Linked DNA regions of Homo sapiens: all the other regions are linked to region 2. Evidence: promoter capture Hi-C in 16 types of primary human blood cells and fetal thymus (Javierre and others, 2016). All regions are on one chromosome and are shown on one strand. The core of a region is centred on a gene start or on the middle of the fragment in contact, and the rest is flanking DNA. Distances in the headings are between cores, read along the strand shown.

Region 1 (4,745 bases), core at 1,745-4,244, 890 kb before region 2:
TTTTCCTTGAAGAGCATTATCTTTACAGATAATGGACATCTGTCTGGTGTGCAGTATCTCAGGACACACTGATGCATGAGACATAACCACCATATCTTCTGTCTTAAATTAATTCTATCTTTTAGTTTCTGGATCTAAGAAGGCCAGTGCTGATGGTGGGAGGTAAATGCATAGATTTAATGCTCACGGACAGTAATCCTGAAGACTATTTTGCACACAATCATGGACATGTGTTTCGTACCCCTGAGTTGGCCTGGGGCCCCTAGGAAGAGAACTAGGCAATATGTATATGTATCTTAACTGGTAATGTTTGACCAAAACTATGAGAGATGTGGTGGGAAGGTTTAAGGACAAGATACTCTTATGGTGATGTTTGAATTGTCAAGGGTGTTGTGGTAGCATACCTATTCCCATTTAAAATAAGGAAAACAAACTTAATGTGCTGCTGGGGCATATCATTCCCTGGAGCACAGCATAAATTTTTTAAGCTTCATAAGGCTGAACAGGGATTGAGAGGGCAAGCAGCTGATAACTAAGACTGGCCATGAGTGTTGTGGCTAGAAGTTCAGGAACAGGTAAGACATTTAGAATGTCCCATCTGCCCTTCCTTCTCACATTTCCCCACTAGTTTTCACAGTGGTTGACAATTCTGGGTTTGGAGGACATAAGTCCTGTGAACTTAATGTGTCCTCTCTCTGGTGAGCAGCTCAATATTCAACACTGTGACCAGCTTTCTTGGGCTCTTCCTTCTGAAGTTATTTCCAGCACTCTGTGACTTGGCCTAGGGTAAAGATAGATAGACGGATAGCCTCTCTTTGTTTCAGATAAGGTTATAGCAATTTAACCTTGTACTGCACTGCCCCACACATGAACATCTATTTCTTCTCAATGACCTCTGTCCACTACCATTCATTCTACAGCCCCCTGGCCAGATGCCCAGTGAGGACATCATGCCCAATGTGCCACAGAAGTCCAGCAGGCATTCACTCTAGTGCTGTCCACAGATCTGTTTGGCAGATCAACTCCATCCAGTTTCTGTTCCTAGTTGCAGCTGTAACTGTTCTGTTGCTGTTCCTGTTCTCCTCCTAGTTGCAGCTGTAACTCTTGGGAAGGATATGCTCTCCTTTTAGACATGTGCATTTTCTGGCACAGAAAAGTTAAGACCATCACAGAGACACTTGCATAGCAGAGTTTAGTTAATTCCATGAAGAATCAGTGTGTTTCATGTAGGTCCTAATGTATGTAACGTCAACTGCCTACCCAGCAGTTATGCCATTCTATTCTAAGCTTCTCCATAGATCTGGATAGCACTGTTAGTTTTAATAGTTTCCTCTAGGGCAGCAGTTTTCTCATTTGTTTTTAAAACAAAGATGTGAGACATTTTTAACAAATGAGGAAAACATATCAAAGGAGAATGCTGTTGTTGAAATGGTGAAGTAAGACCTATATCCCTTTTCCCTGTCTTACTGGCTTTTACACATTCTTATAATCCTTAAGGAACTACCTGGGGTTCTACCACACAGTTCAAAATCCTCTGTCCTAGACTGATAGAATGAGCCAGCTTACTACCCTTAGGCTCTTTCTCTTTCCTCTTCCAACTGAAGAAGAAAGAAGGTCCAAATCTAATTGCAAGAGTGCCTTGTTGGAGATATTCACTATTCACTTGGAGAGAGTGACTCATAGTTCTGCAGCCATAAAATTCCAGAGACAGCATCGCTTTGGCGTTCTGGTTACTTTGAAATAACAAACTGAGAGGTTGTGCCATTGCTCTGTAAATTCTTAGATTTGATTTTGGTACTTCTTGATGTTACTACTTTCTTGCAGTCCAAATAATATGTAAAACAGGATCAAAAGTTTATTTTCCTTAAATCACTTGGTAGGAAAAAATATCACCAGAGAAAGAAAACCCCTGGGGCTGTGACTAGTCTTATTCTTTGTTGTTTCCTACTCCAGTGGAACTGCATACTGGCTCAACAATCCCTTTTTTGTCATCTAATTCTCAGTAATGGAATTTTACCTAAGGATGGTGATCTAGGTTCCAGATTCTTGTTGAAAGCAAGCTGTGGATTGGACCAGCTACTTACTGACTACTGAGTGAAAAATTCAAAGTTATTATAAAGTTTTGGTAATTATATTTTCTTTTATTTTTCATGTTAGAATGTAATGTTTCATGTTTAACACTGACTATAGGCCCATGTACTAGAACATTTTGTTTCCTGTATGGGGTCTTGTTTTAGAGGTCCACCCTTAATCTCTGAGAATAGCAATCCCCATGGAAATGCTTACAAAAGACAGAGAGAAACAAACCATCAGAAAAGGACCCTGGAGAAGCAAGCCATCAGAAAAAGATTCTGTTTCTAAGAACTTGCTCCGATTAAGTATAAATACTTCAGGTCATCATAAAATGAAGAAGAACAAGTTTCCAGGGCTAGAGACCTGTTTCTGCCTCTGGGATCAGCAGTAGTGATGATTTTTTACAAGGTCAGAACCAGCTGGTGCCCAGGGCTCCAATAACTACCCAAGTAAAAACCCAGTCCAATTCTGTTATATATGACAAGAAGATCCATCCCTTCTAGTACAGAGAAGTCGAGCTCTCAAGAGGCTTGAACGCATGAATCTGTTGAGATTTTTACACAATAGAAGCTAAGATGCTAAGAAGTAAAGGTACATATTCTTCACTGAAGCAGCAACTACTAAAGAATCATTTCTTTCTTTACCAAAATTTTCCTAAGCCTTAAGGCCGTCATCAAATTCCTCAACTAACAGAGAAACTTCTAAATCCTGAGAACAATACTCTTCTTAAGAGGCATGATTCCATACCTCTCTTCTAGTGTGATTGTCTGAACTACTTACAGCAATTTTGGATACATTGGGACATTCTGAGTCTGATACGTCTCATACCCTACCTGACGAAAATACATATTTTGACTTTCTTGCATCCTACTGTCTCTGAGGGGGCACAGGCTCTCTGTTCCCTCTTTAGAAGATAGGCCTAATTTTACTCACGGTAAGTTGTAGCACATTAAAAGCCCCTCCATCACCACTAATATCTAGGTATTTAACATAATCACAGAAGATCATGTTGACAAACTGAGTCTGGTGGTGGTCCTCATTTTTCAGCACAGTCTCTTGACTGTGTATCAACCAGACAGGTTCAAATAAAGCACTTCAGGAGGCCTTATAGAGCAAGTGATGAGCGTAGAGTGATCCTAATAGAAGCCATGATGTCTGTTCTTTTAGTTCCTGTGCTTGAGAGCTGGCTGCCTTACCCCGTGATCCCAGTTCCCCTGTTCTTTATGGAGCAAACTATTATACCTGTGCTTTGAGCTCTCCATGGTGCTAGCCCCTGACAGTGACACTCCAGGCTTTTCTTGTTGCTCTCCATGGTCCTGTTTTACCTCCAAGTTTCATAATCTCCTTATTCTCCACAGTGCAGTCCCCAGAACAGGGCTGAAATCTCCCTCCCTGCCACCACAAACACACAGGTTCTTGGTTATGCTCCCCGACCTGTTCCACCACAAACACATGACAAAACTCTGAGATATAGATCTAGAAAGTCCTCACAGCCATCTGATCAACTGCAGAAAGGGAACAGAAGGGCAAGCAATTCTTAGGTTAAAAAAGAAGTGCTAGAAGGTTTTTGTAAGATGCTCAGGAAATTGTGGCCTACAGTGACCTCAAATGGCCTCAAAAGAACTGAATGTTTTGTCATATCTGGATTCATAGATTAAAAATACAACTATATATAGTTCTGTTTTAGATTGAGATAGTATTGCTCTTATATGATAACAATATACAGTTGTACTTTGGTATCCATGAAGGATTGGTTCCAGGACCTCCCACAGATACTAAAATCTGCAGATGCACAAGTCCTTGATATCAAATGGAGTGGCATTTGCATATAACCTATGCACATTCTCCTGTATACTTCGTTATCTCTAGATTACTTATAATACCATATACAATCTAAATGCTATGTAAATAGTTGTTTTACTGTATTGTTTAGGCAATAACGACAGGGGAAAATGTCTATACAAGTTTAGTACTGGCACAGCTTTTAAAAATATTTTCAATCTGCAATTGATTGAATCTATGGAGGTGGAACCCATGTATATGCAGGATTGACTGTATACACTATAAGTGTGGAATGTAAAATGAATCCTACCCAGTTTATAAACATGTACCTCTTAATAGCACTCTGAGCATGACAACCAACTCTAACTTTCCTGTCATGGTGCTTTTTTACCCTTTTCCCTCAACCTTAGCAAAGACAATACATAACAATGGGTTATCAGAATAGATAATGGAGGAATCCAGTAAATGAGAGGCATAGAAAGCAAGTATCAAGTGTACATCCATACCGTCCTGAACGCACCGGCTCTTGTCTGATCTCGGAAGCTAAGCAGGGTTAGGCCTGGTTAGTACATGTATAGGAGAAAACAAATATCAAAATCTTGACTTAACTTCCCCACCTTTATAACCACCTTGTACAAAACTAAATGGCTTTAAATATAACCATCTTCTCCCAGAGCACAGGTCCTTGGCCATATCTCAGTAGATGCATCTTTAAACTCTACTCTGCTATGCTTTAAGGGTACCTTCCAATAAGCTGATGATATCAAACGGCGTAGGGAGCTGAGAGTGCTCAGCCCGTCAGTCTTAGATTAGCCAGCCTGTTCTTCACATCGCATCAGAACTACACAAGCTTCTCATCCCCTAAATGCTGATTTTCCCATGTCAATTTA
Region 2 (4,968 bases), core at 1,607-4,106:
ACTCTCTCCCTAAAGAATGGTGGCAAACATGTAGGCTAAACTCAAATGAGGGAAGAAAAGCATTGAACTCAGCCTGCTGGAGAGACCGAAGTGACATGGCAAACTCCCATTCCCAGGAGCTGCCCAGCCAACCACCCACCATTGGGTGCTAAAACACTTAGATTTTAAATCTCCCTTTCCTCTCCAATCTTTCTGTAGTTTCATCTCAACGATGTGCCTTGGCTGATTCCTTCTCTGCCCCCTTCCAGGGCCCCACTGCTATCCTGGACAGCTTGGCCTCAGCCTGGACAGTAGCACTGACCAGTCAGGCAAGAGAAGAATCTAGGCCGAGGAGGGGAGGGAGAGTGGAGGTTTTTTTCTTCCGTCCTAAATAACCTGTGGCTGGAAAGCTTAGGGACTCCATTGCCCAATGTCTCTTTTCCTCCCCACCAATGCCAGGAGGCTCGGCCTATCTTTCCATCTTGTGTGCAGAAACCAAGAGTTTTACCAGGAGGCTCAGGAGTATCCTTTGAGGAAACAGATCTTTCTGCATGACCCACCCCCTAGAGCTTTAAACCCCCTATCCTGCCAATCACAGAATGACTCCAGAGGACTTCATCTGAGCCCACCGTGATCCAAGTGTCCCAGCCTCTCTGGTCCCAAGGAAGGTCAAGGGAAGGAAGGTCCCCGGGTCCTCTGCCAGTCACTTCCTTGTAGCTCAAGCCAACCAAGCTGGAGCTGTAAATGAGCTTATGCACAGTGATGCAGGTGGGAGGGAGCTAGAATGTGGTTCAATGGGGCACACGGAGGAGGTAGGGGATACCAGCGGGCAGATCATTAATCCCCTCACACAAACATATGCACCCATAGACTGGATGTGGGTCAGATGTTGGGGAAGATGGATTTATTTTTTCCTCAGGGTAAGGGATAGCAGAGGGGTTCTGCATTAGAGCCACAGAGGGGCTGGAACCATAACCCTGCTACCCCTGCCACTCCCACTCCCCACCCACCCTCCATCGGTGGAGTCATTGCCATTTGATATCCGCTGAGACAACTTGGCTGCTCAGGCTCTGAGTGGGGGGTGGGGGGATGGCTCAGAAAACAGCAGCTCCTTTCAGGACCCAGGTTGGCAAGGGCTTTGGGAGGCTGGACCAGCCCAGATCACCCCCCAACACCCTCTCCCTCCCTTCCTCCCTTGCCACCACCACCAAAGGACTGGGGGAAGGCAGCGGGGAAAGGAGTTGGCACTGCCTGGGCCGTGCCTATTGCCTCCACAATCCAGCCCTGGACCCTCTCCCTGGCATGATGCCTTCCATCCCCCTCCTCCCTCGTTTCTTCCTCCCTGAAGAACCAGCTATGAGTCAGGATGCCTGGTTCCTTCCAAACTTGGTCCCCTATACCCAGTCTACCCCCAGAGAAATTTACAAGCCCTACCACTTGGCACAGGATGGTACCCACCATCATGCCAGGAATATGTTCAAAAATCCTTGGAGATTAGGGAGAGAGTTTCAGGATGAAACTAAATTGAACTCACTGGTGGCTGCCCACCCCTCCTGGGGCTAATTTCATGACAACCACTCCAGGCCCTCCTCAGCACCCTTAAACAAGGCCATCTCTCACATGGGGGCCCTAAATCTCCTGTCATTATCTCCCTCCCACCCAGGCAGCCTAAAGCAGTCCCAGTGGGGAGAAAAAAAATTCAAACACCACAGCAAGAGCAGACTGGCCAGACATCTTTAGTCAGAATTTGTATTGGTAAGCAACAGAAGCAGGCTTTAAGCACTGGCCTCTTTGGGGTCCAAATCTGCACCAGCTTCTTCCCCATCTGCCTCACCCTGCCTGGGGCACTCACTGGAATTAAACTTCAAGACACCAGAACCCACCCTCACTTTTTCCCAGTGTTGTCCTTCTACCCATTCCTGGGTTCAGCTCTCCTCCCCCAAATCAGGAAGTTCCATCCTTCATCTGTTCCCTAACACAGGTGCCCTGGGTTAGTTCTGATGAGAGGAGGAATGGAATGGGAAGGGGCGTCTCCATCTGGAGGGTGAGTTTATAGAACCCAATCTGCCCTTCTCACTCTAGCAGAAGTGGCCCTGCTCCTTTCCTTCTGGAAATCCCAGTGCGAAACAGCTGGGGTGAGGGTGAGGGGCCATGAGGAGGGATGTCTTAAAATGGGAGCCACTCAGAATAGAAGGAAGAGATTGGGTGGGCAGGGGTCTGGAGCACACCAGGCTTTGGTGGCTCCCCGGTTTAAGCTGCCAGTATCTGTTTTTCTCCCCATGTGGGAACTAGCGATCATGGGTGTCACTATGTGATTGTCACTGTATGGGGAGTGGGGGAGGGGCTGGGGATGGGAGTAACCTGTCCATATGGGGAGGAGGGCGCACTGTCTGTTGTGCCTGTGTATGGGGTGCCTGGTTATGTGTGGTTGTCACTGTATTAACTAGAGGAGCAGGGATGCAACTGCTGGTCTGCCCAGTGGGAGGGGGCATCGGGAAAGCCCCTTCCTTAGATGAAAGGGCTGAGGTGACCAGCCTGGCTAGTTTCCTCGTGGGGAGCCCTTCCCAGGAGGCTCCATTTGGGACTGCCCAAGGCGGGAGGCAGGGGAACAAGACGGTGGTACCGCTGAGGCCAGGCAGGGTAGGGACTGAGGATCTGGGACCCCGATGTCTCTGGAGAGTTAGGGGGACAGGACCCGGCCGGGGCGGCAGAACTCCTTCATCAGGGCCAGGGTCTTACCTTGGGTCCGAGGTGGAGTGGCCCCTTGGATGGGCCGCGGGGCAGCGGGACAGATGGACGGACGGGGCGGGCAGGAGTTAGGAGCAGAGCTGTGCGACGGGCCGGGCCAGGACTCTTAAACCCGGAGCTGGGATCAGATAAGGGCTTGTCCGGGGGCCGGGGCCGGGGTCGGGCCGGCCGGGGGCAGAGCTGGGCCGGGCCGGGCCGCCCCCTCCCTCCGCAGCGCCGGAGCCAAACTTTGTGTGAATGGAGGGGCCCGGAGGGGGGCCGGGCAGGCGGGGGCGGGGGGCTCCGAACAGACCAATGGGAGAGTGGAGCGCCAGGCTCGAGCCGCCGAGATTGGAGGGTCTTGGGCAGGGGGCGGGGCGTGCGGGGCAAGGAAGCGGAGACCCAGACAGCTGCAGGCGCAGAGAGAAATATCCAAAGACAGAGACCCAGACAGACCCGGGGAGAAAGAGAGATGAAGAGACGATATGCGAAACGATAGGAGCTGAGCTGGCAGGGTGACAGGGGAAGGGAGAAGGAAGAAAAGGGAGGCGGTCCTGTCAGCGATGGGTTACGAGAGCTGGAGCCGGGGGGCGGGACTGGGACCGAGTTAACGAAGTGGAAATGAATTCAGGACCGGCCCAGTGGCCCTGCAGGCAGCGCCGAAGGCGGCGCCTGGAAGTGAGATTGGGGCGGAGTAGGCCTGGGCTCCCTGAGCCACAGGACTGTATCTTTGGGCACAATTCCCGTGTTGTTCACCGTCTCCTAAGTCCCCGGTGCGGTGCTGGGTGAGAGACGCGCAGCACACGGTGCCCACCTGCAGCGGCTTTCTCTGTAAGGAAAGATAAGGCCGGAACCCTCAGCGAAGTGCGGGAGGTACTGAAGGCTGTAAAAGGGAGAGGTCATTCTACTCAGAGGGCTCCTAGCAGATGTGGGAGGAAAGAGGTAACATCTGATTAGGGTCCCAAAGGAAGCAGAAGATTCAGGTGCTGAGAGATGGTCCCCAGGACTCTGTTGCATTTAAGGCAGAGGGAACAACGTAGCAGAGTCCTGGGGAGACGTGAAAATACAAGTTCACTTGGGAAACAGCATCAAACTGTCCCATTTACTAGATTAGAGTGCAGGGTGATGGTTCTCAACCCTTTCATCACCAAAGATTTCTTTAATTTTCTGAATCTATGTGTTGAGAGGTTTTAATTCACCCCCACCCCCAGCATTTATTTAAAAAGAATATAATTATTTCCTCATTTCTGATCATCATAAACATTTAACTGCTAATCAATAACCAGTGTTACCATATTGAATTGCTATAAATTCAGGTAAAAAAAGGAAAGAAACTAGGAATGTAGCTTAGTTTAACCACTAAAAGCCATAAGATAAGTAAATGTCCATTCAAATAGCCTCATTGGAGAAGCTGGAAGGACGGGACTAAAGGTTAGGCACCATAGGCAGTGTTTGTGTTAAGGGGAACATCCGGAAGAAACACAGAGTTGTGCTGATTTGTGGTCAGGCCAGAGTTTCTGTAGGCTACGGAGAGCAATTGAAGGTTCTTGGGAAGGATGGAGTAGGAGAAAGCTATGGCATTTTAGGAAAATTAATCGGGAGGTGACAAAATAGTTTGAACCAAGTGGATATAGTAGGCAAGTAGACGATAGAAAATAATTGCAATAATATAAGCATGAAGAGATGACAGCCCAAATCAGCGTGGCAATGGTGAAAAGTGGAACACAGAAAATGAATTGGAGTACAGAAAAATCAAAAGAAAATGAAAAAAGTTTGAAGCCAACTTGACATGTTGAGCAAAAGAGGGAAGCTTCAGAGATCATACTAGAGTCTCAAGTCAGGTGATCAGAACTGCGAGGTCATTCACGGGCATAGGGGAGCCTGGGGGGGATCACACCTGGTGAGGAGACTGAGGTGGGGGAAGAGGAAGTGATGAGTTCAGAGCTGGAAGCTGTGGAGAGGGGTCAGAACCAGAGAGAGAAAGGAGGTCATTGCTGCCAGGGCAGTGTGAGTTGAAGCTATGAGAACAGGGTAGATCCCAACAAAGACTGCACAGAGAAATGAGAGCCTGGCACAGAGAGTGAGGAACACCTATGTTTAGGGGATGGGAAGAAGAAGGACCCCCAAAGAGTGAAAGAGAATCCACCAGACAGGCAGGAAGGAGACAAAGAAAGTGAGATGTCATGGAGCTAAGGAAGGAGAGACTGTTAAGGAGGAGGTTCTAACAGTGCCAACAAGTACAGAGAGAAGAGGCATTGGGTT
Region 3 (4,546 bases), core at 1,353-3,852, 910 kb before region 2:
AACCAGCCTTGCATCCCAGGGATGAAGCTGACTTGATCATGGTGGGTAAGCTTTTTGATGTGCTGCTGGATTTGGATTGCCAGTATTTTATTGAGGATTTTCACATCAATGTTCATCAGGGATATTGGTCTAAAATTCTCTTTTTTTGTTGTGTTTCTGCCAGGCTTTGGTATCAGGATGATGCAGCCAGGACTATTTGATATGTTAATAATCCCTCACTTGTCTACGTGTAACCATCCCTGCTGCCTTTCTGCCAATCAGCTACACCACCAACAGAGCAATTATAATTTTTCTTGAAGGCAAAACCCCTTAAAGTTCTCTCTTGTCTAAAGAAGAGACTAAAAGCCATCTGTGATCTGATTCCCGTCCATTTTTGCAACATCAGTTACTATTATCCCCCAGCCTCCCCTCTCAGCTTACATTTTACAATAAGTACTTAGAGTTCTCAAAATGAAAAAAAAAAGGTTCGTTTTCCATACTAATATGACTTGGTATGCTGCAATGGTTTCTCTTTTTGGAATGCCTTTCTCCTGTCTCCACCCTCACATCTGTCTGGAAGACTGTTCCTCCTCTTTGAAGACTCAGTTTCAATCACCTCATTTTTTATAATATCTTCCCTGACATCCACCACAACCCCAAGCAGACTGGATCACACCCATCTTCACACCATTACTGCACCCTGTGCATATGGCTATCGGAGGACTGAGCACTCTGTAACGTACTCAATTTTGTGAATCTCTGTTCCTACCAGAGAGAGAGAAACTTGAGTTTTTTTACCCTTGATAGTCTGGGCAGTGCCTGGCACATGGTAGTTGTTCAATGTATGTTTACCAAAGAAAAAGAATCAACAATCAAAACCACTAGAACAGGTCTTTGTCCTCCTAGACACATATCATCCTATAATACCACAGTTCTTGATTTTTGTAATGCAAGTATTAGATGGGAACTCTTAAAATGACACTGAGAACTTTAGGCTTCTTCTGCTGGTCTACTTCAAAGTGGTAGAACGTTCAACTTTCTCCAGAGCTCCAGTTTTCATATCCAGTCTATTCAATATTTCCTACTTGATGGGTTGCCCTCAGCTTAAACTCAATGTAATCTAACAAAATTGTTACAAATTGATTATGTCTCCTGCAAATTTAGATGTTAACACTCTAATCCCTCATGTATTTAGATGTGAGTCCTATGAGAGGTGATTTGGTCATGAAGGTGGAACTCTAATAAATGGAATTAGTGTCATTATAAGAAGAGACACAGGGAGACAATCTCTTTTTCCACCATGTGAAGACACATTGAGAAGGTGGCTGTCTGCAAACCACGAAGAGGACACTCAACAGGAATCAAATCCACCAGTACCTTGATCTTGGACTTCCCAGCCTCCAGAACTGTGAGAAACCAAAGTCTGTTGTTTAAGCCACATAGTTTATGGTATTCTGTTTTAGCAGCCTCAAGTAAGACACTAATCCTCCTTCATTCCAAAATACTAAACCCCACAAAAAGCTTCTCCTAATTCCACTATTTCTTTTCATGGTTCAGCATTTTCCAAGTCACTCAAAAGCCAAAACTGAGAGCTGCCTCAGCCTTCTCCCTCTGTCTTGCTTCCCATAACCAACACCAAACGTAGCACCTCTTTTCCATTCCCAATTCCACTGCCCTTGCTCAGGACTCTTTTACTTTGTTCCTGGATTTCTATAATCATCTTTTAACTCATATTCTTAGAATAAGCATTTAATTTAAAAAAAATTAATCATTCAATACATAGGCACACATTATAAAAATATGAAGTATATAATATGGACAATTATAGTCCCCCTTATGACTTAAGTCTCACTCCTGGCCCAGAAAATAATTTTCCAAGTTTAATATGCATCTGAACAATAGAAACACTCAAGTGCCTACTATGTGCCAGGCGCTATTTAAAGCAATTTAAATAGATTAATTTATTTAATTTTCACATCATACCACCCTAGGGGTCATGTAAAATTATCTCTATTTTCCACACAATGAAAAAAAATGCTGAGGCGGTTAAGTATCTTGCCTGAAGTCACACAGCCAGTAAGTAACTATTCATTTACTTAAACACATATTTATATGCATATAAGATTTTACATACACATATGTATATGTTTTATGCTTTTTTCCCATTTTACACAAAAGGGATAGCAGTATGTGTATTTTCTTTGTATTTTCACTGAACAACATACCTTCTGTATCTTTCTATGTTGGTAGATATAAATTTACCTCATTCTTTTTAACTGCAATGTGTTATTACAAAGTATGATATAGCATAATCTATTTATCCAATTCACTATTGATGAATATTTATGTTGTCTTCAATTTTTCACTACTGGAAAAAAATGATGTGATGCATATCTCTGCACATAAATCAGAGCACTCATGTGTGAACAGATCTATAGCATAATTTGTAGAAATAGCACTGCTGGTATTTCTATTTTTAATTCTGATGCATTCTGCCAAAATATCTCCAAAAAGGCTGTGCCAATTTACATCCTCCCTAACAATATATAAAGGTGCCTATTTCCCTAAGCACTTGCCAACACTGAGTATTATCCATCATTTTAATTTTTTAACAATCTGATGGGTTCTTTGATGCTTTTTAACAGTCTAGGATCTCTTTGGTGCTATAACTTGTATTTCTCAAAATCCAAATGCCGTTGATCATCTTTTCAAATGTTTATTAGACAACTGTATTTTTTTTCTGAGAATTCATACTCATATCCTTTGCCCAATTTTCTCTTGGACTGTTTGTCTTTTTTATGTTTATTTGCTGACTATTTTGCATGTTAGCAATTTTGATACTTTGGCATATATATTGCAAATAAAATCTTCCCAGTCTGTGACTTACTTTTACATTTTGTCTATGGGTCTGCAATTATATCAGTTTTAAAAATTATGCAGTAAATCTTATCGGTCCTTTCCTTTATCGACTCTAGGTGTTGTGTCTTGCTTAGGAAGGTCTTTCCCACTCTAAGATTAAGTATATTTTTCGACAGTTTTTGCAAACATTTTTAGTGTTGTTTGGTTTATAAAATTTAGCACAAGTCCACCTGAAATATATTGTCGTATATGGCATAAGGAAAGGCTAAACCTATCCCATACCAACTGACAAACAGATAACCAATTATTCTAATGTCTTTAAACAGTACAACCCTCTAGTCACTGATTAGAAGTGTAGTATATAATGAAGGTAGCACTCTTCATACACTAAATTTCCAAGTTGGTTTGTAACTACACTCTCTCTTCTGCTCCATGGTTCTATTTATGTATTCCTGTGCCAAGATTTCATGTTTTAATTGCTATAATTTTAAAGTTGCTTAGGATAGCTAGAAAATCATCCTCCCCCTTAGCCCCATGTGTTTAAAAAATTATGGCTATTTACTCTTGACTTTATCTTCCAAGGGAATGTTAGAATAGGCTAGTCAAGTTCCATAAAATATCTTATTGGAATTTAGCATAGTATTGCATCAAATTTATAAATTAAAAATTACCATCTTTACCACAATGAATCTTAGAATTAATATTTAAATACCAATTCAACAACATAACGTCCTGCTACAATTTTTTTTCCAACTGACATTGGGATAAAGATAAAGCTCTTCAGTGTCTAGTTTTCAAATCCCACCTCCCAAATTTGGTTTAAACTAGCCATCTCATCAAATTGATTTCCCTTATTTTTCATCCACAAAGCTTTTCAAACCAGTATACTGATTCTATCCTAAATAATCCTTCATTCCCTGTGCTAGAGATGCCATGCAATTAGGAAAGGGATAAAGCAGTTATATTCTTTGTCTACACATCCTCACTTTGAAGTGCTAACATTCTGGGTCTATCCAAGATCCATCATTACCCTTTAACAAGGCAAGAATAGGTATACTTTTCCTTATTAACTTAAACAGATTTGAGTTTGCAGGGGGAAAAATAGAGCTTTTTATGATTAAATAATCTACGACAATACAGTCATCCCTCAGTATCTGCTGGGGATTGGCTGCAGGACGCCCACACCCTTGCCACAGGATACCAAAATCTGCACATACTCAAGATCTACAATTGACCCTGTGAAAACAGCGGAACCAGCAGAACCAGGAAACTGGCATATAGAAAAAGTCTGCCCTCCCTATCTGCAGTTTGCCCATCCGGAGAATATTGTTTGGTTGCAGATATGGAGCCTGGAGATACAGAGGGCAAACTGTATTTATTGAAAAAAAAATCCATGTATAAGTGGATCCACACAGTTCAAATCCATGTTGTTCAAGGGTCAACTTGTTTTTTCGTCATTCATGGGAAAGAGAACTTGGTGTTGAGCAAGGAAACAGATAATGTGATCTGAAGCTTGAGGAGACCTCACTGGGTCCAAACTCTCAACATGCAGGAAAGAATTCATGCAGTCTTTGACAGATCGGTAAATATTAAAAAGAAGTGAGAAAAGGTTAGAAGAACTGAGATAACACTACCTGAGAAGAGAAGACTAAAATTAAACTGAAAAATGTTTCAAGTGTGTGTTAAAACTTGGAGGAGGTGGGAGTTG

What was found. The method cuts DNA at HindIII sites, captures the fragments that hold promoters and counts their contacts. A CHiCAGO score of 5 or more calls a contact.
Region 1: a fragment that was not itself captured here is called in contact with the fragment with the promoter of KCNJ10 in region 2 in 1 of 17 cell types (neutrophils); the score reaches 5.0 in neutrophils.
Region 3: a contact is called between a fragment that was not itself captured here and the fragment with the promoter of KCNJ10 in region 2, in 1 of 17 cell types (endothelial precursors). The highest score is 5.1, in endothelial precursors.

Annotation. Positions count from the first base shown.
Region 1 is chr1:159,174,126-159,178,870 of GRCh38, forward strand. The region is part of intron 1 of CADM3 (cell adhesion molecule 3); the gene reads left to right. It also overlaps the pseudogene RNA5SP60. Among named protein-coding and RNA genes, the nearest start is that of CADM3, 4.9 kb to the left of the region's middle. The HindIII fragment of the contact is 3,418 bases long and covers 1,286-4,703 here.
Region 2 is chr1:160,067,304-160,072,271 of GRCh38, forward strand. KCNJ10 (potassium inwardly rectifying channel subfamily J member 10) reads right to left here and starts at 2,857. Exons shown (of 2, transcript NM_002241.5): 1 at 2,719-2,857. RefSeq lists enhancers at 2,239-2,408, 4,586-4,945, a cis regulatory region at 2,324 and a silencer at 2,819-3,048. The HindIII fragment of the contact is 4,127 bases long and covers 388-4,514 here.
Region 3 is chr1:159,156,564-159,161,109 of GRCh38, forward strand. No RefSeq gene overlaps it. Among named protein-coding and RNA genes, the nearest start is that of CADM3, 13 kb to the right of the region's middle. The HindIII fragment of the contact is 2,208 bases long and covers 1,499-3,706 here.